Regions from separate parts of the Homo sapiens genome. Here region 1 is linked to region 2. Evidence: promoter capture Hi-C in 16 types of primary human blood cells and fetal thymus (Javierre and others, 2016). All regions are on one chromosome and are shown on one strand. Each heading gives the region's core, a stretch centred on a gene start or on the middle of the fragment in contact. The rest is flanking DNA. Distances are from core to core; before and after follow the strand shown. Region 1 overlaps XRRA1 (X-ray radiation resistance associated 1). Region 2 holds the start of CHRDL2 (chordin like 2).

What was found. Contacts are between HindIII fragments. The CHiCAGO score rates a contact against its expected background, and 5 or more counts as called.
Region 1: a contact is called between a fragment that was not itself captured here and the fragment with the promoter of CHRDL2 in region 2, in 1 of 17 cell types (endothelial precursors). The highest score is 5.8, in endothelial precursors.

What each region holds. Positions count from the first base shown.
Region 1 is chr11:74,872,466-74,877,704 of GRCh38, reverse strand. The region is part of intron 10 of XRRA1 (X-ray radiation resistance associated 1); the gene reads left to right. Among named protein-coding and RNA genes, the nearest start is that of XRRA1, 74 kb to the left of the region's middle. The HindIII fragment of the contact is 1,732 bases long and covers 2,231-3,962 here.
Region 2 is chr11:74,730,003-74,735,173 of GRCh38, reverse strand. It overlaps CHRDL2 (chordin like 2), which reads left to right and starts at 3,748. Exons shown (of 11, transcript NM_001278473.3): 1 at 3,748-4,367. The coding sequence starts at 4,286. The HindIII fragment of the contact is 5,548 bases long and covers 2,266-5,171 here.

The DNA of each region.
Region 1 (5,239 bases), core at 1,847-4,346, 140 kb before region 2:
ATTCTCACTCATAGGTGGGAATTGAACAATGAGATCACATGGACACAGGAAGGGGAATATCACACTCTGGGGACTGTTGTGGGGTGGGGGGAGGGGGGAGGGATAGCATCGGGAGATATACCTAATGCTAGATGACAAGTTAGTGGGTGCAGCGCACCAGCATGGCACATGTATACATATGTAACTAACCTGCACAATGTGCACATGTACCCTAAAACTTAAAGTATAATAAAATAAAAAATAAAAAAAAAGAATCCCATTATTAGTGGGAGTACTATAGGCTATAACCATGACAGTAGAGTTTGATACCTGATAGCCATTTGATGGGTTGTAATACTAGTTGCCTCCACCAGATGTCGCTGTACTTTACCAGAAGTGTAATATAAAAGCAACATTTTTCTTTGAAAAAAAACATATATTCCCCCTTGACTTGCCATTAGAAGATAATTGTAGGCCTGGGCTATCTTTTATGACTTGTGATGTGATTGGGAGGAACACATTATTGGGTGGCTAGAGTAACTTTAGTGTTAACCTTGGCTAAATCTTTCCTGTAATTATTAATCCTGTTGTAAAAATTAGGCAGAATATTACAGCAATTAGAATATTCCATCCAGAATTCTACATTGCAGGTACCACAGTATATAGTCCTACTGCAAATAGCAGAGTAAGTATAACAATTTACACAAGGGTGGTGTAGTAGATAATTTCCATCTTAAATTTTACTCACCAAGAATTTCCCTTTGGGAGTCTATGAAGTTACAACTGTAATCTCATGGATAATCAAAATCTTCCCACAAGTATGCATCAAAAAGAAGTTCTAGTATCTCACAGCGAATCTCGAGAGGAAAAGTAGAAATAACTGAAAGTATCTGATAAGGTAGGAGTGGGACTGAGTAGGATGAATAGCCCTTACTCATTTACTTATCTTTTATGATTTTCAGCTTAAGATCTCCTATTTCTTCACATGGATATCCAGGACATTCCTCTGGGCTGTCTGGGGTTGCTCTCTCTCTCAGGTTTCCAGGCTTTGACTTGAGTGATGCATCCAGGAGTCCATTCCTGTGACTTTTATCGCTGAGGGGTTGAAAGAACAGTGTAGGGCCCTTCCTAACTTGGGCTTAGGTAGGGAGACAGAGGGCAGAGTCTTTATTAATACCACATATCCTGGGTTAAATAATGATGGTCCTATTTTGGGGGGTTGGGCTTCTGCTAGTTGTGTTAATTCCTGTTGGAAGTGAGCTAGGGAGGTTACATGCTTAACCAATTTAGAGGTGTCTTGGTCTAATAGAAAGTCACTTGTAAGGAAAGGCTGTTAATACAGCATTTAAAACGGGGTCAGACCTAACTTTGAAGGGGTATTTCTTACCCACAGTAAAGCCATGGGAAGAAGAGTGACCCAAGGAAGGTTAGTTTCTTGGAACAGTTTTCTGAGATGTCTTTTGATAATATCGTTTGTCTTCTCTACCTTTCCTGAGGACTGGGGTCTCCAAGCACAATGGAGATGATACTGTATGCCTAGTGCCTTTGTGACCCCTTATGTGACAGCTGTCTTAAGCAAGGGGCCATTGTGACCTTGAAGGCACTTAGGTAGACTAAAGTGGGGAGTTATTTCATTAAGTAACAAACACTTTTATTACCTTGGAGGCCTTTTCTGTACAGCATGGAAATGCTTCTATCCAGTTAGTGAAAGTATCTACCCATACCAGGATGTATTGGATGTCCTTCTTCTTTGGCACGTGGGTGAAGTCTATCTGCCAGTCCTTCCCTGGATGGCTTCCCATCCTTTAGGTTTGAGGAGGAAGGAGATGCCTGTTAAGGGGATTATTATTATTTTGAGACACAGTTTCACTCTGTTGCTCAGGCTTCAGTGTAGTGGTGTGATCTCAGCTCACTGCAACCTCCACCTCCTGTGTTAAAGCAATTATCGTGCCTCAGCCTCCCAAGTAACCGGGATTACAGGCGTGCACCACCACATCTGGTTAATTTCTTTGTATTATTAGTAGAGATGGGGTTTTGCAATGTTGGCCAGGCTGGTCTCGAACTCCTGATGTCAAGTGATCCACCCGCCAAAGTGCTGGGATTACAGGTGTGAGCCACCGTGCCCAGCCAAAGGGATTATTTTTAAGACAGACTTCACAAGCACTAACAAGCTGCTTGACTGTTATTAAGTTCTCTCCTGAAAAATCTCTGGGCACACTGATAAGTTTTATCCTTTCCCAAGTGAAAAGCTTGATGAAGGATCTTAAGGACTTTCCACTGGCGGGAGGCTGGCAAGTGGAGTTTGCCGTCCTCTTACTGTAGCCATCCTGAGAGCTGAAAAGTATACCCTTGAGAAGTGGCCCACTCTGCCTCTGCAGGGGAGTACTGAGACTTAATTTCTCTTATGGAGCCTTCCCAGATTAGAGGGGGCTTCAGGTGCATTGAGGCCCTGAGGCTGACTTGCTGCTGACTTGGCTGCCTCATCAGCTAACTTGTTTCCTTAGGCTACTTCATCTGCTCCCTTCTGATGTCCTACAATGCATCACTGCTACCTCTCGTGGAAGGAAAACTGAGGATAATAACTTGTTAATTTCCTGATGGTATTTTATAGGTTATCTTTAGTAGTAGGAAAGTGTCTTTCCTCCCAAATGGCAGCATGAGCATAAAGAACTAAGAAAGCATACTTGGATTCTGTGTAAATGTTAGCTACCTTTCCCTTGCTTAATTCAAGTGTTCTTGTAAGAGCTATCAGTTCAGCTAGTTGAATGCTTGTGCCTGGGGAGAGGGGTGCACTTTCAATGTCATTCAGAGTGTACATTGCATATCCCACCTTACAGACTCCTTGTTCCACAAAGGAACTTCCATTTGTGAAGAGCGTCCCATCTGGATTTTCTAGGGAAGTTTCCCTGAGAGCTTCCCTGGCTGCATAGGTCTGTACCACAACTTGTTCACAGTCATGTTCAGGTTCCTCAGTTTCCTTGGGGAGGAAAGTGGCTGAGTTTAGGCAAGAGCAAGTTTTTAACTGGATTGTAGACCCTTCTAATATCAGAGCCTGATATTTAGGGAGTCAGCTTTCTGTTAGCCAAGGGCATCCCTTAGAGGACAGCAATCGTGCTACATTATGTGGGGTATAAACAGTTAAGCTATTTCCCAGGGTTAATTTGGTGGCCTCTGGTATCAGTAGGGCCACTTTGGCAATGGCTCAGAGGCATGATAGCCATTCTTTAGCCACCAAATCAAGTTCCTTACTTAGGGAGCCCACTGGCTGTTGAGCTGGTCCTCGGGCTTGAGTTAAAACTCCCAGGGCCATTCCCTTCCTTTCTGATACAAAAGATTGAAGACCCTCCCTATGGGAAGGCTGAGGACTGGTACCTTAAGTAAGGCTTGTTTTAACTAATTAAAGGCCTTTTGAGCTTCAGGTTCTCAGGTTAGGAAATGAGTTTTAGCCACTTGAGTTTCTTTCTTTTTTTTTTTTTTTTTTTTTTTTTTTTTGAGACGGAGTCTTGCTGTCACCCAGGCTGGAGCGCAGTGGCGTGATCTCAGCTCACTGCAACCTCCACCTCCCGGGTTCATGCGATTCTCCTGTCTCAGCCTCCTGGGTAGCTGGGAATACAGGCGTGTGCCACCATGCCCAGCTAATTTTTGTATTTTTAGTAGAGACGGGGTTTCACCATGTTGGCCAGGATGGTCTTGATCTCTTGACTTCATGATCCGCCCACCTCGGCCTCCCAAAGTGCTGGGATTACAGGTGTGAGCCACCGTGCCTGGCCTTGAGTTTTTTTTATGAGGTGATATAGGGGGTAAACTATCTCACCATACCAAGATGAGTTTGCAGAATCCTGTAATGCCCCCAAATCCTCTTAGTTGCTTGAAGGTTTTAGGGAGGGGGAAGGAGGAAATTGGCTTACTCCTTTCTTCCCCTAATGCTCTGGTCCCTTCAGACAACACTACACCCAGGTACTTCACTGAGGTTTGGCAAAGCTTGATGTTAGATTTTGAAACCTTATATCTTCTGTTGGCTAAGAAATTAAGAAGAGCTTCACTGCCTTCCTGAGATGCTTCCTCAGTTGGGGCACAAAACAGTATGTCATCTACATATGGCAAGACCCTGACCTGAGGATGGGAAAACTCAGAGAGGTCCTTTGACAGTACCTGTCCAAACAAGTGGGGACTGTCTCAAAATCCCTGAGGCAGCACTGTCCATGTTAACTGGGCATCTGGCCAGAGGGATCTTCGAAGGCAAACAGGTATTGAGAGTCAGGATGTAACGCTATATAGAAAAAGGCATCCTTTAGATCTAGGACTGAACCATTTAGTTCCCTCAGGTATTTGGGTTAGCAAAGTATAGGGATTAGGGACCACTGGATGAGTTGGAACTATGGCCTTATTAATGATGTGGAGGATCTGATCTAGTCTCCATTCTCCATTGGGTTTTTGCACTCCTAATATTGGGGTGTTGCAGGGGCTGCTACAAGGTTCGAGGAGGCCCTGCATTTTCAGGTTATTAATAATGGCTTCTAGCCCCTTCCTAGCCTTGGCTTTAGGGGATATTGTCTCTGGTTAAGAAAAGCAGTGGGATCCTTAAGATGGATCTGAACTGGCCTATTTTTCCTTGAGTTGCTCACCCTTCTGGATTAATAATAGCTTCCACCTGGGGGAAACAAAGAGTTTGTCTTGGGGCTATAAGGATGCTGGCCCCCATGCAAGCTAAAATGTCTCTGCCTAATGAAGGAGTGGTACTTTCAGGCATGAGTAAGAAGGCATGAGTAAATAATAGGTCCTCCCAACTACAACTAAGGGGTTGAGAAAAATATCAGGTTAGAACTTTACCTGAGATGCCCATCATGGTCATGCTATGGGAAAAGGGGATTAGGGAGAAGAGGGATGCTGGTTCCAATGTCTAGAAGAAGGTCCACCTTCCTTCCTTCCTTCAATTTTCAGAATCACCTGGGGCTCCTGTGCAGTAATGACAGTTTCAGCTGCTGGAGCCAGGGGTCTGAACCCCAGGACCCAACAGTCCTGTTGGACCATCTGTGAGACTGGTTCTGAACCCAGTGACCTCCATCTCCAGGGGCAGTCTGATCTCCAGTGGTCCCAACCACTGGCTGGACATGGTTGGGGTGGCTTCTACTTGCTGCCTGGGCACTCCTTCTTAAAGTGCCCTGACTTGCCACACTGGTAGCAACTAATGGATACACCTTGGGGATCCTGGACTTTGCAAGTTTGCAAAGCAGCTACTAGAGCCTCTGCCTTCTCTCGC
Region 2 (5,171 bases), core at 2,499-4,998:
TCTCCACTGTGTCCCTAGCACCTAGCACTATGTCTGGCCCAGAATTTGCACTCAATAATTGTTGCATGAGTGAAGGAGTTAGCAATTACCTTAACCCTTGAAAAATAAGTAAGCTTGCCAGACAAATCAAAGTGAGTACAGAGAGGGCATTCCAGGGCGAAGAAACAGTGTTTGCAGAGTCATGGAGGCCCAAGAGCTTGGCACATTTGAAGACAATGTTTAATATGGCATGAGGGGTCCCGGGACCCAGACTGGTAAAGGTGAAGGTATGGAAGAGGGGTTCTCTGCCCCAAATCTCTAGAGAGCTCTCAAAAGACAAAAGGACTTGGCTTGTTCTGTATAGCCCTGGGGACAGAGTGAGGGGCAACACAGGCAGTCACAGAGAATCAGATTTCAGTTTAATATAAAGAACTTTCTAACAGAGCTGTCCAACAGTGGAATGGGCTGCCTTGGCAGGCAATGAGCAAGTTCGCTATGAAGGAAGAAAGCAGATGCCAGATAAACTCTTAGTGCAACAAACTGCTATGGGGAGATGCATTTTTTTTTCCTGACTAGATTTTGGAAGAATTTATTCAGTCTCCTTTTTAAAAGGGTATTAAATAATATATAGACAACTCTCTTCAATAGTATTTCTACAGAAGACACAAAGACTTTCTTTCTTTCTTTTTTTCTTTTTGAGACAGTCTTGCTCTGGAGTGCAGTGGTGCAAACACGGCTCACTGCAGCCTCAACCTCCTGGGCTCAAGCGATCCTCCTGCCTCAGCCTTCAGAGTAGCTAGGACTACAGGTGCGTGCCACTATGCCCAGCTATCTTTTTTACTTTTTGTAGAGACGAAGTTGGGGGGGGGTCTCACTTTGTTGCCCAGGCTGGTCTTAAACTCCTAGGCTCAAGCCATCTTCCCACCTCAGCCTCCCAAAGTGCTGGGATTACAGGTGTGAGCCACTGGGCCCGGCCTGACACAGAAACTTTCAAGTGTTTGTTTCTTATGTCAATCATTGACTAAAGCTGAGGCCAATAGTGGGCTGAAGGCTTTTCCAATCACTGAGGTCTTCACTCATTCATGTAGCAATTATTTATTCAGTATCTGTGTGTCAAGGACTTTGCTAAATGCTCGAATTACAGATATAAATTTCAAAAGGCACCTGCACTCACAGTGCAGGGTAAAAATGCAAATAAATACTTACACTCCAACAGCTACAATTCAAAGTGCTATGGGAAACACAAAGACTAAACATTGACTTTGCCTGGGGGACTCAGGGAAGACCTTGGAGTGGAGGTGACTCAACTGACCTTTGGAAAGTTAAATGGGATTCACTAGATGGAGGAAGAGAGAGTCCAGGCAGAAGGAAAACATGTGTGAGGATATGGAGGTGCGACGACGCATGGTCAGTTTGGGGAGGTGAGCGGTTGGCCAAAGTGTAGGGTAGGTGGCAATGGTAGATTGGAACTAAAATATGCGTGGTGTTCAATTCAGTGCTGAAAATTTTAGATTTTAACCTATAAATGATAGGAAGTGAATAATAGGTTTTATGTGGGAAAGTGATGTGATCAGATTTGTCAGTAGAAATGATCAGCATAGTTCTCAAGGCAGGTGTGAGGAAAATAGATAGGAGAGATCCAGATTAGGGGGAGGAGACCTGGTAAGAGGCTGTTGGGAAAGTTCAAGTAAGGAATGAAGATGGCCGGGTGCGGTGGCTCATGCTTGTAATCCCAGCACTTTGGGAGGCTGAGGTGAGTGGATCAGCTGAGGTCAGGAGTTCAAGACCAGCTTGGCCAACATGGCGAAACCCCATCTCTACTAAAAATACAAAAATTATAGGTGGTGCATGCCTGTAATCCCAGCTACTCGGGAGGCTGAGGCAGAAGAATCGCTTGAACCCAGAGGCAGAGGTTGCAGTGAGCCCAGATCACGCCACTGCACTCCAGCCTGGGCGACAAGCGCAAAACTCCATCTCAAAAAAAAAAAAAAAAGGAATGAAGTTGGCCTCAACTCTGGGGATAATAGGGATGGACAGGAGGGCTGAGATGGTGGAGGCCTTTTTTGAAGTATGATGGGCAGGATGTAGGGGAACCCATCTTAATCCACTTCTTACATCTAAGACATGAATATATGTGCACAGCACATTTTAAACAAAGAGAAAGGAAAAGATCACTGTCCCAAACCCTTGGGATGAGATTGTTTATGCAATTAAGCAGCACAGGATTTAACTCTGAGATCCCTGGAAGCAAAGGCAAAAAGGGAAGCATGGTGACATGCATAAGCTTGCACTATCTGTTAAAATAAAGAATACTCAGGGGAAAGGAAGAGACTGGCCAGATTAGAGTAGAAATTAAGCCTGAAGGGCACTGGACAGATCATGTTTGTCCCTGATCCTGAGAGCCCTAGGAAGGGCCAGTTTGGGGATCACTGGTTCCTCCTACTGCTCTCTTTTGGAGGGTGGAGATCTTGGGGGTAATACCCTGAAAGCACAGTGCAATGGGGAGCCCAGCCTTGGCCCAGAAAGATACCTTTACAGCCAGCCAGCCAAGTGTTTAAACCCGGAAATATGATTCCCTACCAGAGTGGGATATGGCTCAACATCCCTTCCCACCTCATACTCCTCTGGCACTCTTTGGAGTCTCCATTAGCTCTTCAAGAGAAGCTGGGCAGAAAGTTGAGGTCCAAAGCAAGGATAGATGTATTTACTCAAAGTGGCCCAACAAGTTACGGATGGAGCCAGGACAGTGACTCTGCCCTTTTGATTTCAGAGCTTGTGTGTTTCTGGTCTGGCCAGAGCTGGCTATTCTCTTCTTAGTGTCCTATTAGTGCATGTGTTCATTCAACACAAGAGATGGAGCACCATTTGAGGGCTGGAGGGTGTCAGGGCCCTGTCCTCAGGGAGCTCCCCTTCTGGTGGGAAAGAAAACTCTTTGACAATCAGCTCTCCCTAAAGATGACTGAAGGTGACCATCACTCCCAGAGAAGTGCAGGCCTCACCTGCAAAGGCAAAGGAGAGATCTTGCCTTGATTCGGGAGTGGGAGCGGGGAGCAGAGGAAGACCTCCAGGGGAAGGCACAGGATCCCTATGGGCTGACTTTCCTGAGAATGGCGCATGGGCAGACGGAGTGGGGACAGGGGCCACTGGTATTGTAGGCACCTGGAATTAGGACCCCTTCTCTTTGTGGGGTGAGTGTTTCGACGTTCATTACCTTATTTCATCTTAGCAACACTCGTGGGAAGATAGTAGAGATATTTTAAGATCTTAAAATGCCCATTTTAAAGCTGGGAAAACAGACTCTCCGGTGGCGTGCTGTAGACCACAAACTGAATTAAGAACGCCAGTGTTCTGATTCCATCCATCTGCGGAGTTCCGGGCACGCACCGCCGAGCGCCTTACCCTGAGCCTTCCCGGTACCCGCAGCCCCGACAGCTCAGCCTTCCCCACCTGAAAGTTCCACCTGAGGTCTCCCTCAACTCTGCCCTCCTGCATTCTTGGCGTCGCGGGGAGTCAGGGGTTAAACCCCGTGGCCCGCGTGGCCCCTTCCCCCTCCGCAGCCCCCTCGCCTCCACTCGGCGCCGCGCCTGGAGCGTCCGTCCCGGAGACCCGCACAAGAGAGGAGGGGAAAAAGTGGGCCTGTTTCTCGGGTGGCCAATCCACCGAGCCCGCGGTGCCCCAGAGGAGGCGCCAGCGCTAGGCCAGCGCCAGGCCGGGCTGCCTGCTTCCCGCGGCAAAGTACAAATGCGCCCGAGCGCGGCGCCTGAAGCCCTTGGCGAGCACAGCCGGCCCGCGCTCAGCCTCCCTCCGCGGCCGCCGCGCCGCCGCCGCTGCTGGGACCGCCGCCCCGCCGGGCCCCAGGCCCCCGCGGCCCGACCCCGAGCCCACCGAGCAGGGGGCGCCGGCCGCCTCTAGCCCGCGCGCCCGCAACACCCGCTGGTCCCGCGCGCCTCGCCCGGCGCTGCGCGCTCGGCAGACGCCGGTCCTCTCCCTGCTTTCTCCTCCTCTCCCTCTCACCTTCCCCCTTTCTTTGATCGCCTCTCCCTTCTGCTGGACCTTCCTTCGTCTCTCCATCTCTCCCTCCTTTCCCCGCGTTCTCTTTCCACCTTTCTCTTCTTCCCACCTTAGACCTCCCTTCCTGCCCTCCTTTCCTGCCCACCGCTGCTTCCTGGCCCTTCTCCGACCCCGCTCTAGCAGCAGACCTCCTGGGGTCTGTGGGTTGATCTGTGGCCCCTGTGCCTCCGTGTCCTTTTCGTCTCCCTTCCTCCCGACTCCGCTCCCGGACCAGCGGCCTGACCCTGGGGAAAGGATGGTTCCCGAGGTGAGGGTCCTCTCCTCCTTGCTGGGACTCGCGCTGCTCTGGTTCCCCCTGGACTCCCACGCTCGAGCCCGTAAGTAGACCGGGAGGCTGGGTGGGCAGAGGAGGGATGCGGCCCCTGGAATGTGAGGGACAGCGCCAGGACCTGGACCCCAAGCTCTTCTGACAGCCGTCCAGGCAGCACCTGTGCCGGAGGGGTGGAGACTCCGTGAGGACCAGTATGGGCCGGGGGACCGGAGGAACTCGGCACAACTCAGAACTGAGAGAGGGCTGCTGCCAGGGACCTGAGGAGGGGCACCAAGGGCAGCGGGGGGAGAGGGCAGGGCACTGTGTTTTGGGTTGGGGGAGGACTTACTGTTCCTAGGAGGGAGTCGGGTATGTCTGGCTACAGGTAAGGAGTGTGATGGAGAAGAAAAGGCTTTTTGCCTTTGGAAAGAGCCATTGGACAGAAATGAGAGGTAATTAGGATAACCTTCCCATTCTTTTCTCTCTTTTGATCCTCGCAACTCTCCAGTGAGGTGGGTATTATCATTCGCACTTTACAGATGAGAAAACTTAGGCTGAGCAAGGAGGAACTTGCTAAAACTTACAGAGCGGGTAAGCCATCCAAAGCCAGAACTCTAGTTCCAGATCCCATGCTTTATTCCCTGCCTCACATTGTCTAGAAGGAACCCTGAATTTGCAGTGTGAGACTCTGGGAGGCGGCAGGGCACAGTGAGATAGACCAGCGTCTTCACCATCCCAGCCCCGCTGAATGCCAGCTGCTGGGAGGCCGTCACAGAGTGCACCTCTCTGACCCTGGGTTTCCTAATCTATAAAGCGGAAGTAAAAATCCTAGGAGAGTTGATAGGATTAAATTAGAGAAAAGAGGTAAAGC